Regions from separate parts of the Homo sapiens genome. Here regions 1, 2, 3, 5 and 6 are each linked to region 4. The links are contacts of gene promoters, found by promoter capture Hi-C in blood cells and fetal thymus (Javierre and others, 2016). All regions are on one chromosome and are shown on one strand. The core of a region is centred on a gene start or on the middle of the fragment in contact, and the rest is flanking DNA. Distances in the headings are between cores, read along the strand shown.

Region 1 (3,402 bases), core at 15-2,514, 370 kb after region 4:
ATGACACCAAAACAACTTTTAGAAAGTAGAACAAAAATTTAGGACTAACACTACCTGATTTGTAACACTTTTATAAACCTGTAGTAATCAAAACACTGTGGTATTAGTGTAAAGATAAACACATAGATCAATGGAACAGAATAGAAAGTCTAGAAATAAACTGACATATATGTGAACAACTGATTTTGATAAAGATAAAAAGGCATCTTTTTCAGTAGAGAAAAGATGGTCTTTTAGAAAAATGTTGGCTGAAACAATTGGATATACAAAACCAAAAAAAGAATCTCAATTCATACCTCACTATGTATAATATATAAATATGAATTTAAAATGAGGCCAGGCACGTTGGCTCATGCCAGTAATCCCAGCATTTTGGGAGGCCGAGGCAGGAGGATCACTTGAGCCCAGGAGTTTGAGACCAGCCTAGGCAACATAGAAAGACCCTGTCTCTGCCAAAAAAAAAAAAATAATAATAAAAATAGCCAGGTTGGGAAGCTGAGGTGGGAGAATTGTTTGAGCCAGGGAGATTGAGGCTGCAGTGAGCCATAATGATACCATTGCACTCCAGCCAGGGTGACAGAGTGAGACCCTGTTTCAAAAAAAAAATATATATATATATACATATTTATTTTATATTTATATATAGGACCATAAACATATATGTAAAACCTAAATATAAAACTTCTAGAAGAAAACATAAAACATAGCAGAAAACTTTTGTGACCTTGGAGTGGGCAAAAATTCTTGGTATGACACCAAAAGCATGATCCATAAAATAATAAATTGATAAAATTAGACTTCAAAATTTAAAACATCTCCTCAAAAGACACAAGGTAATGAAAAGATATGTCACAGGTTGGGAAAAAAATATTTGCAACCCATGTATCTGATAAAGGACTTGTATTCAGAATACATGTATAAAGAACTCTCAAAACTCAATAAGAAGACAACCCAGTTATTTAAATGGGCAAAAGATTTGAATAGACATTTCATTACAGAAGATAAATGGATGGCAAATAAACACATGAAAAGATACGCAGGATAATTAATCATTAGAGAAATGCAAATTAAAACCACAGTGAGATATCACTACACACCTATTAGAACAACAGCCATACCAAATGTTAATATTAACCAGGAACTTTTTTTTTTTTTTTTTGAGATGGAGCCTCGCTCTGTTGCCCAGGCTGGAGTGCAGTGGCGCTATCTTGGCTCACTGCAAGCTCCACCTTCCGGGTTCACGGCATTCTCCTGCCTCAGCCTCTTGAGTAGCTGGGACTACAGGCACCCGTCACCACGCCTGGCTAATTTTTTGTATTTTTAGTAGAGACGGGGTTTCACCATGTTAGCCAGGATGGTCTCCATCCCCTGACCTCGTGATCCACCTGCCTCGGCCTCCCAAAGTGCTGGGATTGCAGGCATGAGCCACCGCATCTGGCCGGAACTTTCATATATGATTGAGGGGCATGTAAAATGGTATTAAGTAACTGTTAAACTTTGGAAGACAGTTTAACAGTTACTTAAAAATCAAACATACGCCAATCGGAAGATCTAGCCATTCCACTCCTAGGTATTATATTTATTCAAGAGAAATGAAAGCATATTTCTACACAGTATATATGCTAATGTTCATGACAGCCTTATTTGTAATAGCCAAAAACTAGAAATGACCCAAATTGTCTATCACCTGGTAAATAGATAAACAAATTGTGGTATATCCACACTGTAGAATACTACTCAGCAATAAGAAGGGAATGAAGTATTGATATACACAACATGGATGAATCTCAAAGTAACTACGTTGAGTGAAAGAAGCCAGACCAAAAGCAAGTCCAAACTGTATGACTCCCTTTATGTACTACAATACATGCTCATGCATGTCTGCTATATGGACAGATCCTACTGTACACACAATTGTTTTCTACTCTTTCGATTGTCACAGCTCCATTTTTATCAGATTTTTGGAATTCTGAATGTTATCCATGTTTTTAATCCATGATTTTTATAAAACTTCAATTTAGTGAGTCAGTTTTTGAAAAAAGTCTCCACTTAGAAAGCTGATAATAAGATTCTGAAAATGAGTTGAGTCTTAAATTTTGTGAAGATTTATAATCATTTATACTTTCCATAACTGTATGTTGTGAAAGGATAACACTGTTCCTCAGTCATCTCCTGTGTGTGCTTGTATATTTGACAGTCTGACTTACTCTCTGTGGTAGGGTTTTAGCAGCAGCAGAAGAAAATAGCAAAATGGAGCAATCAAACTTAGAAAAGTTGGAATTGAATGTCAGAAAACTGCAGCAGGAACTAGACCAACTAAACAGAGACAAGTTGTCACTGCATAACGACATTTCAGCAATGCAACAGCAGCTCCAAGGTATAAGGCAGCAAAACAGTGAAAGTGTGTGATTTCCTTGCCCTTCGTTAGATTCTTTGATTTTTCTTACGACAAGTAATTCCTGCTAATGAGCATGGTGTTTCTTTCTAAAATTAGATTGTGGTAATGTTTGCACAACTTGGAATATACTAAAAGCCTTTGAATTGTACACTTTAAATAGGACATGATATGTGAATTTTATCTCAATAAAGTCAGTTAAAAAAAAAAACCTAATTCATGTTCCTTAGAGAACAATTTTAAAACAGCAAAAAGAAATAAAAATTGCTGTTGACCTCACTCCTCATAGATTCCTAGTAACAGTTTGGTGAATATCCTTCCAGATTTTTCCTAGGGGTGTGTCTAGTTTGAAAAACAAAAACAAAGATGTAAATAATGAAGATTTTAAAATTACCAAATGTTTATAAATATGATAATTTATTTAGAAGAAATTGCTGAGTAATTCTAGCTAATAATATACTTGTTGAACATTTTTTATATCCTTGGTATTTCATTTTCTCACTTAATCCTCATAACATTTTTATGAGATAAAAATTATTTTACTCATTTGTAAATAAGGAAACTGAAGCTTAGTTTTCTTGTGACTGCTTAAATGAGAAGTGACTTGCTAGAGGTCACACAGCTAGTAATTGACAAAGCCAATATAGATAAAAAATTTATTCCCAAATTGCCTTCCTGAAAGGTTAAGTTTCTATTTCTACCAGCAATGCAGAAGGTAGCTGTTTTTAAACACCTAACATTAAGTATTATCTGTAATTTTTTCGTTGTGAGATTTTGAACATGAAAATCTTTAAAAACCTGAGCTCCAAGCCCAAATCTGGATTGTGCATGTAACTCTCTTTTGGCCTTTAATGAGATAGTGTGGCATAGTCATACATGTAACAGGAGTAAGCTTAAAACAACTTCTCTACTTTTTGGGAATGCTAATGGGAATCTGTACAGTAAATACGTATGTATTTCTTATTTCATGAGAATGTCATTTCTTTAGAAAAACGAGAAGCAGTAAA
Region 2 (3,563 bases), core at 322-2,821, 470 kb after region 4:
TGAGATTTGGGTGGGAACACAGAGCCAGACCATATCAATTTATAATTTACTTAATTATAAGTTTATATAGATTGTTATTGAAGGCTGTGCTTAATACAGCCTTAATACAGCTGGGTGTAAGAATGCATGGAAATTTGGCCAGGTGTGATGGCTTACTCCTATAATCCCAGCACTTTCAAAGGCTGAGGTGGGAGGATCTCTTGAGCCCAAAAGTTTAAGACCAGTCTGGTAACATAGAGAGACTTCATCTCTACAAATAACATAAAAATTAGCCAGGCCTGGTGGGATGTACCTGTGGTCCCACCTACTTGGGAGGCTAAGGCAGGAGGATTGCTTGAGCCCAGAGGTCAAGGCTGCAGGAAGCCATGTTTGTGCCACTGACTCCAGCCTGGGTGACAGTGAAATCTTGTCTCAAAAAAATCCACAAAAATTCATGGAAATTGAGCAATCAGTTCGTAAGAAAACAACACTAAACACACTAAATCAGTTCTTAAGAACACAACACTAGCACAACACTAAAGGGGACCGAGGCTGGAGAAAATAACAGTCTCCTTTCCTTCTTCCAGCTCTGTCTTTCTCTGACCTCCACACCTTTGCTTATTCTGTGCTCTTAGCAGAAGATGCTGTTCCCTTCCTCACCTCCACTCTTATTCTTTCCATCCTTTCAAGGCTGACTGAATCCAAGCCGTTGTCTCTGCTTGGCTTCCCCTCCCCTTTTCTCTGGGAAGTGCACCCCCTCCACCCACAGGTTACAGTGGGAGCAGCCAGGTTTGTGCAGTAGGACCCTGTCACTCGGGCCAGAGTTAATTAGATAAAGGGTAGGCATCTGATCCAACTTAGAATGTGGACTACAAACAAAGATTCCAGCTTGCTGCTGGTAAAAGCCATTTTCTGGAAAGCAGAAATGCTTGTGTGATGTGAGCAGACAGGCAGAGATGAAAGATGGGGGAGAGAGTACTTTCTGGGTTCCCTTTAGTACTCAGGTCCTGCTTGTGGTCTGATCCTGAGGCCCAGCTGCACCCCTGCCCTAGTGTTCCATGGGATATTTCAGGATCTCCTGAGAGTGCTCTCTCAAGTAATCCCTTGTATGAAATCCCTGTCTCATCCTCTGCTTCTAGGGACAAACTACAAGGCATTCGATGCTCAACAAATACTTGTGCTGATAACTTCTCTTTCTGAAGCCAGCTCCAGGAGAGGTCTGTAATCAGAAGAGCCCCTGAACCCTGAAGCCTCCTGGGCTGCCCAGCCCAGGCATCTCCTCTGTGAGTTTTGCGACACCCTTCTAGTCATTTAACGAGCCTCATTGGCTTTCTCTGTGAATACGATGGAAGATGGCCACCTCAAAATGGCAGCCTTGGCCTTCAGAGATCATTGGTCCTCACAGACCCAGTTAATTAACCATGATTGTCATGTCTCAACTTCCAGCTCCAAATTCTAATAGTCCAGCTTTTTTCTGCCGTCCACTCCTCATGCTGTCAACTGTGTTGTGGGGGAAGGTTACAGTACAAACCTGGGTGCAAGTGAGGGCCATCCCCTTGGGTGGGAAGAGGCGTTCTCAGAGGAGAGAGCAGGTACCCCCAGATTGTCTAATGCCTGGCCTGTGTGTGGCCTTCATTTCTCCCCAGCCTCACTCTGGGAAGGAGGTGGTCTTCTGGCAAAAGAAGATATCAAAGTTCTTCCATCAGAGGAGATCCTTATCAGCAAGACATTCACTCTGAGGTGAGGATCCAGGACAAACAGGCCTTACCTTACCTAGATCCAATGGGGGGAGAAGTACAAAGAGGTATCTAGAAAGGAATGAAGACAGGATACCAAGAAGACTTCTAGGCATCCATGAAAGGCAGACTTGATATATCCTGCCAGCTATAAAATACACATGTTGAGTCATAAAGCAAAGCACCAGGAGATTTCTAGAAGTGTTCCTAGAGGAGCACTCCCATGTAAGTATTGGTTATCATCATCACAATCATCATCAATCAATCATCATCATCATTATCTTCATTATCATTTCTAATGATTCCTGGTGATACCCTGTTCCCATGTTCCTCTCCAGCCACCAAATGGAGCAATTACAGGGTTATGGGTAGGCATCTGACCCAGCTTAGAATATGGAACCTTAGATCTAGCTTAGAATGTGAACCCTTTTGCTCTCCTGGCCTCAGTTTCTCCATCTCTAAAGGGAGGAGTTGGAGCAGACATTCTCCAATGTTTCCTCCATCGTGATGTGGTATTCTCCAGTTCTATGGGGACACAGATTCAGAGTTCCACCTCCCTTTGTCTGAGAGCAGTTGCTGGGGCTGGAAATGATATGTTAGATAATTCCAAGGCATGTGTATGCCGGGGCTTGTAATCAAAGATTCCAGAGCCAAATAAGCCTGTGTTTTTGCTTTTCTCCCCAGCAGCCTTGCATTGGGCCCCAGGCAGCCTCTGGAGAAAGCAGAGAGTAGCAGAGATGGTGTGAGCCTCCCTGCGGGGTGGATACCTTGCTTGTATTCTCAGAGAAAGTGGAACTGGGCAGAATTTCCCAAGCCAGGAAAGGTGGCAGAGTGTGACATAAGACATTGAGCAAAGAAGCGAGGGCCAAGGACTCAGGCATAGAAGAGTAGACTGCACAGTATCAGTAGTGTGACCTCCAGAGAGTACTTAACCCTTTCTGTGGGCTTGGCCTGCTCATCTGAAAAATACACATGGTAATGCCTCCCTTAGGAGGCCAGGTAGGGAGGTGAGAATTAAAGTCGGTAATACGTGGGAAGCCCAGAGCATGGCATGAGGCATTCAAGAAATGGTTCTTGTATTTACTGGTGTTGAACAAAGAGAGAATGGCAGGAGGAAGAGCCAGGGTGAGATTCCCTGGGTCCTGTGGCTTCCCTGGCTGCTATTCAATGGAAAAACCAGGGAGTGAGCACTGTGCTCTTGGCTTCTGTGCTACTTAAACAACAGCCTTTTCTGCTCTGATCCCCAGCACCCGGCAATTACTGACTCTAGTACATTTTACCTTGTGTTAAGAGGGAGCTTTACCCTGGCTGAACATGGGGCTGCTGCCAGCACCCAGGCTGGGAATGGACATCTCTGTCATGTGGTGCAGTCTCCTGTGGAGTGTGTGAATCCTTCCAAACCGGAGTCACGCGGCAACTCCAAAAGTCCTGGGAACTCATGTGTGCACCAGGACTGCTGGGAGGCCGTCTTATGCCTTGCTGCATTATAAACGGCTATCGTCTCAAATGCATATGAGATGTTGTTGAAATCAACAAAGTATTACATTTGCTTAAAATTGACCTTGCACTCATCTTTCTACCCAATGTGGATTTCCTCAATCTCCTAAAACAGTATCTGCCATGACACTAATAAGAACATCCCTTCCGTTTATGCAGAAGCCACGGTCCCTGTCATTGTGCTGAGAGTCTTTTTCTCACTGAGTCTTCTCAACCGCCCCATGAAGCGGCAATTCAGGATGCCCATTTGACAAACGAGGAAACGGAGACTTAGACATGTGAGCTCGCTTGCCCAAAGTTACAGGACTAGTCGATGTCTGGGGTTCCAAACCAGGCCTTCTGACTCCGAGG
Region 3 (3,594 bases), core at 808-3,307, 410 kb after region 4:
CTTCTCTTAGATTCTAGAAATGCCACAACTTTCTCTTATTTCTAGATGCTCTGTAGGTTCAGGGCCGTAGAGGCTGTCCACGGGCCTCACAGGAACGCACCAAAACCAGGACATCGCAAGCACAGGCGCACAGACCCAGACCCCGGCCCCGGCCCGGCCCGGCTGCAGGGCCGGGCTCCCCACATCGACAAGGACACCGGAGCTGCCCCGAGACGCCAAGAGGGCTGCGAAGAGCTGCCTTTGTACTCAGAGCCAGACGCGGCCTACGGGACGGGACCGCCACGTCTGGGGCTTGCGGGCTGCAGGGCGGCGCGGCACGCGTGGGTACACCCTGCGGGGGCGGGCTGCGGCCGCGGGGAACAGCGGCGAGAGGGGGGCCCGCGGGAGATGCGGTCCTGCCCAGCCGCGCCGAGAAGGCGGGGAAGGCGAGGCCGGAACACACCCTTCCCTGCACGCCTCGGAGCGCCCCGCCGGTTGGGGAGGGCAGGAGGCTCAGGCCGGAGCCGCGCAGGGGACACCTCCGCCCCCGCCCAGGAGTCCTGTCAGGCCGGCGCCGCGGCGCTCACCGCCGACCCACGGGCTAGCCACGGCCTGACGGGGCCTGGCCCCGGGGCGCCGCCCGCCTGCGGCCCAGTCTCCACCGTCCCCACACACGCCCCTCTGAAGAACCCGGCGCGAGGAGGTATCAGCCGGCCGGACACTACGGAAGGCCCGGGTTACCTGGGGGGTTGCTGGTGGCTGGGCAGCTTTCCGGGCGGGAGGGGGGCGTCAGGACCAGGAACAGGAGTGCGGACGCAGCGGGAGAGGGGGCGGGGGCGGTCGACCGAGGCGCCGGCAGGTACACTGGCAGGCCGAGAGGTGCAGACGCGCCGGCAGCAGTAGCGGCAGTAGCAGTGGCAGCGGTGACTGCTCCTGTGCTCCCTCAGTATCTTCCTCGGGCTGGTCCAAGATGGCGGCGCTCCCTGCACAGGGTTTCCTGTCACCCTCGCAATGGGCCGGACCACAAAAGAAGGGGGAGAAGATGCGCGCGCAGCTGGCGGAGCCCGGAAGAGGGTGGCTGAGGCCAGCCCGCTAGCCACGCCCCTTCCTCAGCCCTCACCTCTGGACTTGTCGCGCCGCCGCTGAGGCCCGCCCCACGGGCGCTCGCGCCCGGAGGGAAGGTGGAAAGCGCGTATGCGCAAGCGCAGTCGCGTGTCCTCGCCTCTTGGGGGAGCTACTGCGCAGGTCTGCGTGGAACCTGGTGGGGTGCGCCTGCGTCTTGGAGAACTAGGGTTGTCGCTCGTGGAGACTTTTGAACAATTTTTAAAGCCAACATTTACCACTTATTGGACGCTTACCGTATACTGGCCACCATGCTAAGCATGCATTTACTGCATTCATTCAACGTGTATTTATGGGGGCATTTACTGTATATACCGCTGTATGCTTCGTATATACCGGTCCTGTCCAACAAACGTCGGAGGCACGCATCCCCATTGTATCCATGGAGAAACTGAGGCTCAGGTTGGTCAACTCTCTTGTCCAAGATCACGCAGCTAGGAAGTGACCCTGCATTTCATCTCTATTTTGACTTCACTTTGGGGTTGCCTTTGACAGGGTGAGAGAAATGTGATATTTTTCACAATTTGTCTACCACCTGCCATCTTCCAACTTGCTCTGCCATAATCACTGCCCCAGAAGGTTTCGTGCTTTTCGGGTGCAGGGACACGTTTTGACTTTCTTGGACCCTGAGCACTTTTGCCTTGTGGCTTGTACATTACACACACACATATATTTCACACACATGTAAGTTAAATATATGTATAAATATTTAACATATTTTACAACTGCATTGATATAAACATGACGTATCAATATTATATAACAAAATATTTTCTCTGACCTGAAAGTTCATTTTTTTCTTCTGACTTTAAAAGAATGTAAGCCGGCCGGGCGCGGTGGCTCACGCCTGTAATCCCAGCACTTTGGGAGGCCACGACGGGCGGATCACGAGGTCAGGAGATCGAGACCATCTTGGCTAACACGGTGAAACCCCGTCTCTACTAAAAATACAAAAAAATTAGCCGGGCGTGGTGGCGGGCGCCTGTAGTCCCAGCTACTCGGGAGGCTGAGGCAAGAGAACGGCGTGAACCCGGGAGGCGGAGCTTGCAGTGAGCCGAGATCGCGCCACTGCGCTCCAGCCTGGGCAACAGAGCGAGACTGTCTCAAAAAAAAAAAAAAAAGGAACGTAAGCAAGGAGGGCTGGTAGTCTGCGCCTGTAATCCTAGCTACTGGGGAGGCTGAGGAGAGAGGATCGCTTGAGCCCAGGAGTTCTGGGCTGTAGTGCACTGTGTCACTAGATAGAGTGTCTGCACTTAAGTTCAGGAGGGAGGGACCACCCAGGTTGCCTAAGGAGGGATGAACCGGCCCAGGTCGGAGATGGAGCAGGTCAAAACTCCCGTGCTGATCAGTAATGGGATCATACCTGTGAACAGCCACTGCACTCCAGCCTGGGCAACATGGGGAGACCCTGTCTCTAAAATAAATAAATATTCATTTTTGTTGGCCCCTAAAAGTATTGGAGGCCCTAAGCCCTGTGCATACTGTACTGTGCCTAATGGATAAGGTGGCCCTGCCTTAGTTCCCCACCCCCAAATTAAATCAATCTTTCTCTTAGCGTTCAGGACCTTTTATGAACTGGTTCTGCCATGAACAAGTGAGATTTCACTGTAAAAGTGTGTGCCAGTTTGTACATCTCATATTTTCAGAGACCTGGGTTCGAATTCCTGCTCTATAATCTAATGGTATGCAGTTGTGCATGTCACTTGATTTCTGAGATTGTCAGTCTTTTCTGCAATATGAAAATAGTAATATCTCTCTCAAATAGGTCTTTGTGAAAATTAAATGGGATAGTATATGCAAAATATCTGGTATATAATAAGAAATGGAAATGATTATTACATGATAATCTAATCTAAGGTGATATTGAAATCCTTTTGCAACCCTAGAGGTCTAGGCTTCTATTTCCACATTCTTTAATAAGTATAGTTTGTTGTCACACTTTAACATTTTTGAAACTAAGAAATTTGCCTGTGCCAAGTAAAGGAGAAAACTGTGAACCAATGATCATTAATTGCCCAGGTATGAACTTAGACCTGGCTAGTAAGTTTCCTTATAGCCATTATCACCTGAAGGGAGATCTTTATGTATAGCTGATGTTTATTCAACACTTACTATGTACCAGCAACTGTCCTAAGAATCATGCATATTTTCTCATTTAATCCTTACCACATCCGCATGAAGTCAGTACTATATTTACCCCATTTTATGAATGAAAAAACTGAGTGTCATACAGATCTAAAGTCGTTTAGGTGAAAATTGGGTGGGACTTAAATCTGGCAACATGTGACCTCAGGGCTGTACTAAGCCCTATTCCATTTCCTCCCTTATTTGCTCTTGTTTCACAATAGCCAGCTTAAATGCAGGTCCCTAACTGCTGCTTTCCTATGTGAAAGACATTACACTTTGATGCAGCTTTGAACAGAAACACTCTTGTGGATGCAGAGTGCCTATCACATGCTAAGGAATGCAATTAAAAAACAGTAGGAATGGTCA
Region 4 (3,506 bases), core at 274-2,773:
AAAGTGGGTCATGCAACAAAAAGACTCCTAAATTGGAAAATGAGAGCCTGGGTTTGGTCTCAGGTTCTGCCATTAACTCCCTATGTTACCTAGGCAACTCACATATTTATATTGGTTTTAAAGAAAAAGTACCACTGGTAAACATTATCTCATTTCATCTTCATAACCTCATGGAAGGTATCAGTAATGCCGCCCTTAACTAACATTAATGAGGAAATTTACGGCTCAAGAAGTGGAGTGGCCTTCCCAGAATGGCACAGGAAGTAGCAGGCTCAATATTTTGCCCAGTACCCATTCTCCCAAAACCTATACTCAGAGGTATTAGAGACAGGACCTTCTGGAAAACAGTGTAAATGTGTTTTCCCCTCCTCCTCTATCAGAACCTGGCCTAGTCAAGAGTGAAAGCAACATAATTGTTAGTGGTAGAGGGAAGGAGGCTTCATTTCCCCCTTTTCTTATCAAACAAAGAGCACAGAGGCGCTGAAAATGTATACACACCTATAAACTTACATATGCATAAAATGTATTCTGAATATTCAAGAAACTGATAACCCTGGTTGCCTCCAGAGAGAACTGGAGAGCTGCAGAATAGGAATGAGGGGTCCCTTTTTATTGTATACCTTTTAAAACTGAAAACCATGTTAAGTATAATATACTATCAAAAAATAGCCTTTAGTTTTAAGGTGAATTTTTTTAAAGCTTTGAAAGAATACAAATAATGTTTATAAAATATGTGTTCTGCAACTCCACTTGTTGCTGGGTGACCTTGGGCAAATCACTTCACCTGTCTCATGCCCTGTTTCCTCACTTGTAAAATACAGCCAAGAGCATTACCTACAAGGGTTTTTATGAGGGTTAAACAAGACAGTGCAAGTAAAGCGTTTAGCACAGTACTCGGCACGCTGTAAGCCTACAGTAAATGTCAGTTACCATTATTACTTAGCATTAATATTGTTATCTTTGCTTTACTTCAAGCAGCACCCCACATACACACCTGTTTTCATGGCATACCCACAATTATGGCGCAGTATAGCGCTTTGTACTTCATAAACCACCTCATCACACTTCATCGTCTTTCAAACGTTTGGTAGCCCTGGGACATCACTGTTAACTCATTTCGCAGCTAAGGAAATGGAGGCAGTAGGAGGCAGTAACTCCAAAACCCTGTTTTCCCGTCTCTAAAATCCAGATCCCATCAACCCATTCGTTGCTCCCAGGTCCCTTGCTCTCGGAATCGTGTTCCGCGCGGCACTGACCTGAGCGAGCGCCCCGGGGCCCGGGACCTCGCGCCGGGTTCACAGCTACTAGGCACGCTCGGACCGCCAGAGCCTTGCAGCGGCCGGGTCCGCTCCGCAGCCATGGCGCCTGCAGGGAAAGAAAAACAGCCAAGGCGCGGCGGGTCAGCAGAGCCGCGGGCGCCTAAGAGTCCCCTCCCCGACCGGCCCCGCCTCGCATACAGACCCGGACCTGCGGCCGCTGCTCCCGGTCCGCAGCCTCACAGGGGAGCGGCTTCCGGTGCTGCCTGCGTCATCTCCGCGCGTCCCTCAGCTCCGCGGCTCCCGGCGGAAGCGGCTGCACTTCCGGTCCCCGCCCGGAGGTGGGTGGTGGGAGGCTGGAGGCCGGGAGTAGGGGTGGGGAGAAGAGCGTCCCGGGAAGCTGAACGCGTGCCGCGCGGCCCTCACGGTGCTTAGGCTGGGTGCAACCTAGAACGGAGGTTCCTTTCGTACCGTACATCCAGGTTTGCACAGCGCGCTTATGTCCCTCCTCCAATCTGATCTTGCACCAGCTCTGCAGTAGTTTTTCTTATTATCCTCATTTTACGGAGGAGAGGGAGCTGTGGCTTAGAGAAGTTAAGAGACGTGTCCAAATTCATACAACCTGTTGGGCACCTCTTTATCCCGAACGCTGTTCTAGGGGATAGGGTTAGTGAACAAAAAACGCAAAAGCCCCTGACCGCCTGGGCCTTACATCTATTAGGAGGAGGAAGACAGATAAACTAAGGCTCGTGCAAAGGAGAAAAATAAAGCAAGGTAAGGAGGTTGTTGAATGAAAAGAGACAGTCAAGTGATGTAGATTTGAATGAATCACAACGTTTACACTCTGGCTGTGGCCCGGTTACTTAACCTCTCAGACTTTGCTTCATCTGCATAGCAATTATAGTGAGGTCCCCATCCGAAGGCTCTGAGGATTGAAGGAAATGAAGCATGCAAACCTTTTGGCGTCAAGAACTAAAACTGAGCTAAAAAATCCCACGCACTCTTTCTCAACATTTTTTGTGTACCATCTCACTCAGTTCCCACAACAACCCCACAAGCTAGTAACTATTATTAGGCCCCTTTTTAGAGATGGGGAAACTGAAATCAAAAGAGGTTTAGGCATCTTGCCTAAGGTCATAGTAAATGGCTGTCATAGGATTTCAACCCAAACCGACTTCAGAGCACAAGTTATCCTTTTTTTTTTTTTGAGGCAACGTATCACTCTGTCGCCCAGGCTGGAGTACAGTGACACGATCTTGGCTCACTGCAGCCTCGACTTCTCCAGGCTCAAGCGATCCTCCCACCTCAGCCTCCTGAGTAGAAGGGACCACAGGCGCGTGTCACCATGCCCAGCTAGTTGTGTGTGTGTGTGTGTGTGTGTGTGTGTGTGTGTGTGTGTATTTTTGTAGAGTCAGGGTTTCGCTATGTTACCCAGGCTGGTCTTGAACTCCTAGGCTCAAGTGATCCACCTGCCTGGGCCTCCCAAAAAGTGCTGGGATTACAGGGGTGAACCACAATGCCCAGCGCACAAGTTATCCTTGTTTCTCTGTAAGGGTTCCTAAGCCATACATGCATACACGCACATTCACATACATCTTATACCAACACTGTCCAATAAGCTTTTTGCCAGTGATGGAGTTGTTCTGTTGGTGCTGTCCAATAAGGCAGTCACTAGTCTCTTGTGGCTACTGAACATTTGAAAAGTACCTGATGTAAATGAACTAAATTCTTAATTTTATTTAATTTTAATTTAATAGCCACATGAGGCTAATGGCTACCATGCTTGATAGCACAGTCCAATAATATAGACAATAAGAGAGACACATATCCAGTAGATGGTAGAGCATGGCCAAGGTTCCAAGCATCCTGACTTCATTTAGGGTACTTGAAACATGGGAAATAAAAATTGATTATGTGGGGTGGAAGTCAACTACGGTGTCCTAAAAGTAAGGTCTCAAGAGAGCAAATTTGATTTGCTAAGCAACAGGATGTCACTCTAGACTTCTAAGTCAGAACGTGACTGATCACAGCATTATAAGACATTTAGGAAGACAGATATACAGATTGGATACTCTCTATGAAAGGGAAGGCAGTACCAGGGTAATCAAGAAAATCAAGCACCCATATCTCTTTGGAGCAAACATTCTCAACCCCAGTACAGTTTGATGAATCAAATTGAAAAGTCCAGATGGAGCTGCCCCAGAGATAATATTGTTTGGACCTCTCATAACAAAGAAACCAAATTGTGCA
Region 5 (3,873 bases), core at 617-3,116, 260 kb after region 4:
AAGAGAGGAAAGAATTTCCAGATTTCCAACCATCATCTGAATTCCCCTTCCCCACATGCCTAGTAGGAGATGGCAGAAAATGAGAGGAGTTCAGTTTTTATGATAATAAGATATATTTACTGAAATTTTGCCCTGTGATAAGGCACTATTCTGAATACTTTATTTGTATAAACTCATTGTGTCATTACAACCACTCTGTGAGGAACTATTACTCCAATTTTAAGGTGAAGAAACTGCTAATTAATTTTCCCAAGGCCACACATATAGGATTTATGAATTCTATAATTCACAAATTATAGAATTAGAAATCGAACCTGAGCAGCCCGTTTCCAGAATTAACATTTTCAACTGTTGTACTAAATGGAATTTATAAAGAGTTTTGTAATTAGAAAAATTTAGGGATATAAAGCTACTTTAATTTCAGTATTTATAGAAGCTTTATGTTTTTAAGTTTAGTATTGCTTTAATTTTGAATTGTGTATGGTAGGGGTCCCCAACCCCTGGGCCATGGACAAATACCAGTCCATGGCTTGTTAGGAACCAGGCTACACAGCAGGAGGTGAGCAGTGGGGCAAAGGAGCATTACCACCTGAGCTCTGCCTCCTGTCAGATCAGTGGTGGCATTAGATTCTCCTAGGAGCATGAACTCTATTGTGAACCGCACATGCGAGGGATCTAGATTGCAAGCTCCTTATGAGAATATAATGCCTGATGATCTGAAGTGGAACAGTTTCATTCTGAAACCATCCCCACCCCAATCCTGGTCCATGGAAACATTGTCTTCCACAAAACCTGTCCCTAGTGCCAAAATGGTTGGGGACTGCTGGTCTATGTGATGGTAGCCGTCAAGCAAAAATACATAGTGTTTAGAAGCCCCTAAAAGAATATTCTGGAACCACCCTTTATAAAGATTTTGGTTCTTATTGACTTATCAGTAGCATAATCTATCCATATAAATAATTTCATAGTTTTCTTTGTCTTTCAATTGCTGCAGAGGAGCAGGAGCTTGCAGAGAGGCAAGAATGTTATTTTGGCCTCTATCTGGAATGCTCTTTCCTCAAATATTTGCATGGTTTGCTTCCTCACTTCCTTCAGGCTCTGTTTGAGTGCAGCCTCCTTAAGAGAACCTTTCCTGGCCACATTTTAAAATAGTGCCCCATAATTATTTTTTAATTCTCATACTCTGCTTTATTTTTTTCTTCATAATACTACCTACCTGACCTTACACATTCTTTCATTGGTTCATTCATTCATTACTTGCTTCTCCCACTAGAATGCAAGCTCTAGGAATTGTCTTACCGTTTGCTATATCTGCAGTGCCTATCATATGTTTAGATGCTCAATAAATATTTGTTGAATCAATCAATCAACCAATTAATTAAAGTGATTGATTGCCATGTTGTAAATGGTACACTCTGACTTCTTCAGAGAAAGTGAGGAAATAATTTTTATTAAGGGCTAGTAGAAAGAATTCAGAATAAGTCTGGACAAGAATCATGGAACCCAGGTCCTAGCCCTAGTTCTGCCACCAATTTGAAGTCACTTAATTTCAGTCTCTCTAAGCCTTAGCTGCTCGTCTTTCAAAAAGAATAAAGGCAGGATGCTAAGGTAGTTGAGTGCTTGTGGCCATGTAAAAAGATCACAGATCAGAAATACGAGGGTGCTAAAAAAGAATGACATCCTAAGTATGTGTTTATATATAATATATTTACATGTATACATTTATGACAAAATGAAAAAAATTGAAGTGATAAACAGGAGACCTTAATAAAAATCCTGTTTCTCTCTCTCTAGAACTGTGACCTTTGGTCAGTCACTTCCCTTATCTGGACTTATTCTCATATATAAAATGAATAGGTTTGATTAGATGATCTGCAGTTACTTTTCAGTATTAAAATATTTCTAGATATAAGATCATTATTTTTAAAACATTACTTAAAATGCATATTATCTCAATAATGACACTAAAAATTGTGAAAAGTCAGCTCATAAATGTATGGTAGAAGTCACTACAACAACAGATTTTCAGATCACAGTATTAGATTGACTCCTAAATAACCCTGGTTTAACTGTGTATAGTCTATGAAAAACACAAAGAAAACTAAACACCAAGTTAAAATAAGCAAAAAATGTCAAGAAAGTTTATTATCTGGAGTTTCTTTTGTGCTTTTTTGAAGAGGAATTTGAATAATCACTTAACGTAAATTTTAATAAATAACAATTCCATAAAAGCTGTCATGTTGTTAGCTACTCATCAAATCAAAATGCTTCCATGACTTTCTCATTCAGAGATGATACTATTCACTTGCTGTTCTCAGAAGTAGCAAGTTATTTTCAAGTTAACAGAATCTGTTAAATTTAACTCTTCATTCGTCATAACTAAGATGCATTGAAAAATGAAGATAGCTTGTTTTACTTACGTTTGCTCCTGTCCCCAGGTTTTCCCCAGGAAGATTAAAAAACAAAGTATTCCCAAAAGGCCCATGGTTGGAGGTAGCAGGAAACCACGGATATAACACTTTTGAGGATAGTCTCCTTTTAAATAAACTGAACTTGAAGAATTCAGATAATCTGGTTAATTATTAATGTCAGAAAGGTGAACCTCTAAGTGGGAAAACTAGAATTGGAACTAAAACACCCTTTCATGCCCAGGAATACAGATAGGGAGTACTTTACAGGAACTTACACCCAGGGAATTTATTTTTATTAATACAAATAAAGGGACCCTAAAATGGGAATTTGGCACTATGAAGAGTGGCTCAAAGCTAGAAACCAGTAAGCCCATTGCTTTGGCCTTTCTTCTCTTGCCCAGGGCATTTGCTTTGATGTTGCATCATCTGCAAGCATACATCTGGCAGGTCCACTCTAATACTGATGAAGACCCACCTGGACTCAGTTTCACACTGAAATGATTTTAGAAGGGGCCTGGTTTAGACAGGGCTCACAAGATGATCTTTTTTTGGTGACCTGAATGGCAGTGTCCTTGGTGCTGCAAATGGTCTGAGCATAACCTAGCTCTGCAAAGGAGGTCTAGGGAATTGTTCCTTGGTCTGTCTCAGTCTAGAGAACACTAGGTGGAGGAAAGTTGTGACTGGCAATGAAAACGCCATGTGGAGGATGCTGTCGTCATTCTCTAAGTATTGGAGAATAGATATTCTCCAATATTTATTAAGGCATATACCACTCGTTCAAAGTTTGTCTTTATTCAGATATAGAATATCTTTCTTTTAAAGAAAACACATGTTATACTTTTCAGTGAGGATTTTAATAATTTTAATATAAGAGCTCCAGAAAAACAAAGCTTCCTATAACAATTGAGTCTAGTAATTAATTCACAATATACTAAAATTTTATCTTTATACTTTTTTTTTTTTTTTTGGAGACAGAGTCTCTTTCTGTCGCCCAGGCTGGAGTCTAGTGGCACTATCTTGGCTCAGGGCAACCTCTGCCTCCCAGGTTCAAGGCATTCTCCTGCCTCAGCCTCCCAAGTAGCTGGGACTACAGGCATGTCCCATCACATCCAGCTAATTTTTTGTATTTTTAGTAGAGGTAGGGTTTCACCGTGTTGGCCAGGCTGGTCTCGAACTCCTGACCTCAGGTGATCCACCCACCTTGGCCTCCCAAAGTACTGGGATTACAGGCATGAGCCACTGTGCCTGGCTGATTTTTAATTAAGTTAATTTTTATGATGTTTTATGTTCATTAGAATTTTTTTATTTACTACCTTCTCTTTTTTAGTACTATTTTTACCTTAATATATAATATGTACTCTTCTTTAAAATAATAAAACAGATGTCTCTAAACATATTTCTATAATGAGATATTTATGATATATAAATGAGATATTTATGGTCACATTGGCATTCTTTGCTT
Region 6 (3,432 bases), core at 604-3,103, 300 kb after region 4:
TTCAAGATTGAGGTGCTGCATCTAGGGAGGGCCTTCTTGCTGCGTCATGACATGGTAGAAGGCATCCCATAGTGAGGCAGAGCAAGAGAGCAAAAGATCCTGAGACACAGAGAGAAAAAGGAGACTGAACTGTGATAATTAATCCACTCCCAAGATAATGGCATTAATTCATTCCTGAGGGCAGAACCCTCATAACCTAATCACCACATGAAGGTCTCGCCTCTCAGAACTGTCACAATGGCAGTTAAATTCAACATGAGCTTTGGAGGGGACACTAAAACCATAGCACTATCTTTTGGAAGAAAGGAGGGGAATGAGAGGGAGAGGTATGGCAAAAGTGAGGTAGAGGGAATGACAGTGAGGGAAATCTTGTTGGATAGTCTTGAGCTTCTTAGTATATAGACAATGTTGTTGTCAACTGAAGGGCAAAGAGAGTTTGGTAGCTTGAGTAGAGTTATTACTCCTAGTCAAGGAGAGCTGCATCAAGGGATTCTCCAGGAGAGCAGTAAGGGTATATTATTTTCTGATGACTGATCAAACAGACCCTGATGCACATAAGTAAATGTTGTACTTTATGTCAAGTCATCTGTTGTGTAAAGTATTCATTCATTTGTTTCCAATTAGTATATTGAGAATTTGGAAAAATGTGTTAAACTTGAAGTACTGAATCTCAGCTATAATCTAATAGGGAAGATTGAAAAGTTGGACAAGCTGTTAAAATTACGTGAACTCAACTTATCATATAACAAAATCAGGTGAGTTATATAACAAAATCTTTAGGCAGCATTGCAGATAGCTTTGTTAGAGAGGTAGATTAATGTTATCCACATTACTGAAAGAATGATTTGACAGAAACAGAAGATATTTTTATCTTTATTCATCAATCAAATGAATGTCTGTCTCTTCACATATGGTAGGTAACTGTCTTTATGTTTTGGCATTACTGAAGTACAGAATAACATCTAGCATTATCAAAGAGATATATTTTTGAGCACCAAATTGTATCTTAATTTCATTTCTGACAGGAAGTTTTCCCAGATATTGTCTGTGATTTATTACCTTATTACATTAAGAATGTTGACATGAAGCAGAATGTTTTAACCCTGCCATTTTGACCCCCAAGATGTTCTAATCTGTTTTGATTCTGATGTTCTTTGCTTATTGCTACAAGAAATATGCTCTCAATCCTGTTTCCAATTCATAATATATATTACTGTGAGAAATAAACATACTAAAACTGACACTGGCTAAAACTTCATATAGAAAACTTGTTATAGACAAAATGATACAAGAATCAAATCTTGAAATTCTTAATATCTGCATGCTTTTCCCCCAAGTTAGACTTGGTAAATATGATGGCCAAGAAAATGACTAGCAATGGCAGAAGTTCTGATATGACAAAACTGAAATGAAAAAAAATGATTAATGAACCAAACCCTTATTATAAAATTTGTATAAAAAGTTGACTCTGATGAAAATATTTTCAGCAAAATAAAATTGAAAGTAGAGAAGCTTAGAAATATTTACCCAGTGTAGATAGAGGCTTTGAAGTATTTGTGCAGTATAGAAAATTGACCAAAGAATTAAATTGACAAATAAATTAGAAGTGACTTGGGAAAAACCTTCATCAATCAGAATTCATTAATATGTGTGATAAATGCTTTATTTAAAAGTTCTGGTTAAATTACTTATATTCCTAAATACAGTATCATCTATGGGCTCCCATATCCTGCTGGCATAGCTAATCTTTTTATGATAACTTAAGACAATAATTAGGAACATCTTTTGGACAGGAATGTAGCAGATAGGACAGGGTGCTATTGAGTTTCCCAGGTCTCCACTGGCTGTTTGCTAGTACTGTTCACAGTAGTCGGTGAGAATGCCATGGTCACATTTTTCTTTTCTATGTTATGGAGTTGCAAAGTCTAATAATAAGATTGATAGGATTCCTGGGCATAGTAATAAAAAGTTGGCAGTTTAGCTGTTCTGGTAAATTTGGCTTTAGCCACTTTTCTTTGTTCTCATTTATGAAAAGAGTTGATAAATTATCATTATGAAAAGTAATCTAACATGGAGCTAAAGCTGTTTATTCTAAAAATACAATGGAGAGACTCTATAATTGTACTCACTAAATTTTATTTTATCCTTTGCTTTCCAGCAAAATTGAAGGCATAGAAAATATGTGTAATCTGCAAAAGCTTAACCTTGCAGGAAATGAAATTGAGCATATTCCAGTATGGTTAGGGAAGAAGTTAAAATCTTTGCGAGTCCTCAATTTGAAAGGCAACAAGATATCATCGGTAAGTTATTCAAAATAGCAGGAATTTTTAGACTTGTTAAAAAATAAAAGATTAAAAATATCTAAGTTTTTTAAAAATGGGATTTCTTCTTTTAAAGATTTTGCTCCTTTGACTAAACACTAGATTCAGACATAGCCCATGATTTTCTAGATTAATTAAATACAAGCAGTCCTCATTTTGCATGGGTTCCTAGGTCAACCTAGGGTTGACCTCTTAGCATTTTTACATTTATCATTTCATGTAAGCCTCATAACATTCTTGTTAAGAAGGCAGTACAAGGATTATTTTTGTAACACTATGAGTTAGGTAGTAGCAAGTAAGGTCTAGGACAGGTTAAGTCCCTTATCTAGAGTCACATTTTGTGCCAGGATCCAGATCACTGAATGCCTAGAAGAAAGTTCTGGGTTTTTTTTTTTTTGACAGTATTAACTTCCAATTTCAAATTTACCAGTTTATTTTGATTATAATGTTAGGTGTTATAGGAGGTTGATCACTAGCTTTTCATAATAGAGCAACTTTGTTATGATTTACATATTTGGATGATGTTGTATATTTTTCTCTGGAATATAGTTTATGATTTTCTTATGGTATTTATTCACAGCTAGGTATTTAATAAGCATTTGCTTAGTAAATTTGTTAATTTATTTAAATTTGTATTAAAATTGGGAAAATTGTGCCATAATTTAATGAACATCAGTTGTAGAATAGAAAATGAAAGATGTGACTTCAAAGATGGGCCTCTATAGAATTGCCTTCCATGACCTTGGAGAATTCTTTAATCCCTCTAAAACCACTGTTTGGGGAAAACAATCCCTATACTGCCTCCTTTACAGGGGTATTATGGGGGCTCAGATGAAATGATAGATGTGAAAATGCTTTAAAAAAAACTTTAAAACACTAAATAAGTCTAAAGCTATATTCTTTAAGCCTTCACCAGTGGAGGCCAATAATAATAAGCAATATTCATTTAATGCCATGTTGTTAACAATACCTATGCTTTCTAATTTCATCCTGTGACAGTCAAGAGCCTCAGAGCCCAAGCCCAACCCCATGTTGTACAGCATCACCTTGGGGCTGTTGATGCTATGGGATGATGGGAAGAGGTAGCCATAGATCTAAAATTTGCCATAAA

The links. The method cuts DNA at HindIII sites, captures the fragments that hold promoters and counts their contacts. A CHiCAGO score of 5 or more calls a contact.
Region 1: a contact is called between a fragment that was not itself captured here and the fragment with the promoter of FBXW2 in region 4, in 5 of 17 cell types (total CD8 T cells, naive CD8 T cells, non-activated CD4 T cells and 2 more). The highest score is 7.2, in total CD8 T cells.
Region 2: a contact is called between a fragment that was not itself captured here and the fragment with the promoter of FBXW2 in region 4, in 2 of 17 cell types (total B cells and naive B cells). The highest score is 5.9, in total B cells.
Region 3: a contact is called between a fragment that was not itself captured here and the fragment with the promoter of FBXW2 in region 4, in 8 of 17 cell types (total CD4 T cells, fetal thymus, naive CD4 T cells and 5 more). The highest score is 9.6, in total CD4 T cells.
Region 5: a contact is called between a fragment that was not itself captured here and the fragment with the promoter of FBXW2 in region 4, in 12 of 17 cell types (total CD4 T cells, naive CD4 T cells, naive CD8 T cells and 9 more). The highest score is 14.0, in total CD4 T cells.
Region 6: a contact is called between a fragment that was not itself captured here and the fragment with the promoter of FBXW2 in region 4, in 3 of 17 cell types (naive CD4 T cells, total CD4 T cells and non-activated CD4 T cells). The highest score is 6.2, in naive CD4 T cells.

Annotation. Positions count from the first base shown.
Region 1 is chr9:121,162,724-121,166,125 of GRCh38, forward strand. It overlaps CNTRL (centriolin), which reads left to right. Exons shown (of 44, transcript NM_007018.6): 35 at 2,220-2,377; 36 at 3,384-3,402. Among named protein-coding and RNA genes, the nearest start is that of RAB14, 37 kb to the right of the region's middle. The HindIII fragment of the contact is 3,394 bases long and covers 1-2,961 here.
Region 2 is chr9:121,264,036-121,267,598 of GRCh38, forward strand. It overlaps a transcript of GSN not described here. Among named protein-coding and RNA genes, the nearest start is that of GSN, 2.3 kb to the right of the region's middle. The HindIII fragment of the contact is 6,397 bases long and covers 1-3,563 here.
Region 3 is chr9:121,200,919-121,204,512 of GRCh38, forward strand. RAB14 (RAB14, member RAS oncogene family) reads right to left here and starts at 951. Exons shown (of 8, transcript NM_016322.4): 1 at 721-951. It also overlaps a transcript of GSN not described here and the pseudogene RN7SL181P. RefSeq lists silencers at 133-382, 403-872 and enhancers at 565-1,064, 883-1,102, 1,373-1,532. The HindIII fragment of the contact is 7,258 bases long and covers 1-3,594 here.
Region 4 is chr9:120,791,893-120,795,398 of GRCh38, forward strand. FBXW2 (F-box and WD repeat domain containing 2) reads right to left here and starts at 1,524. Exons shown (of 8, transcript NM_012164.4): 1 at 1,462-1,524; 2 at 1,257-1,365. It overlaps B3GALT9 (beta-1,3-galactosyltransferase 9), which reads left to right and starts at 1,575. Exons shown (of 3, transcript NM_001386823.1): 1 at 1,575-2,030. RefSeq lists enhancers at 1,225-1,855, 1,918-2,017, 2,448-2,537. The HindIII fragment of the contact is 2,176 bases long and covers 698-2,873 here.
Region 5 is chr9:121,047,762-121,051,634 of GRCh38, forward strand. C5 (complement C5) reads right to left here and starts at 2,514. Exons shown (of 41, transcript NM_001735.3): 1 at 2,421-2,514. The coding sequence starts at 2,485. The HindIII fragment of the contact is 2,865 bases long and covers 435-3,299 here.
Region 6 is chr9:121,094,264-121,097,695 of GRCh38, forward strand. CNTRL (centriolin) reads left to right here. Exons shown (of 44, transcript NM_007018.6): 5 at 625-755; 6 at 2,159-2,300. Among named protein-coding and RNA genes, the nearest start is that of CNTRL, 21 kb to the left of the region's middle. The HindIII fragment of the contact is 686 bases long and covers 1,511-2,196 here.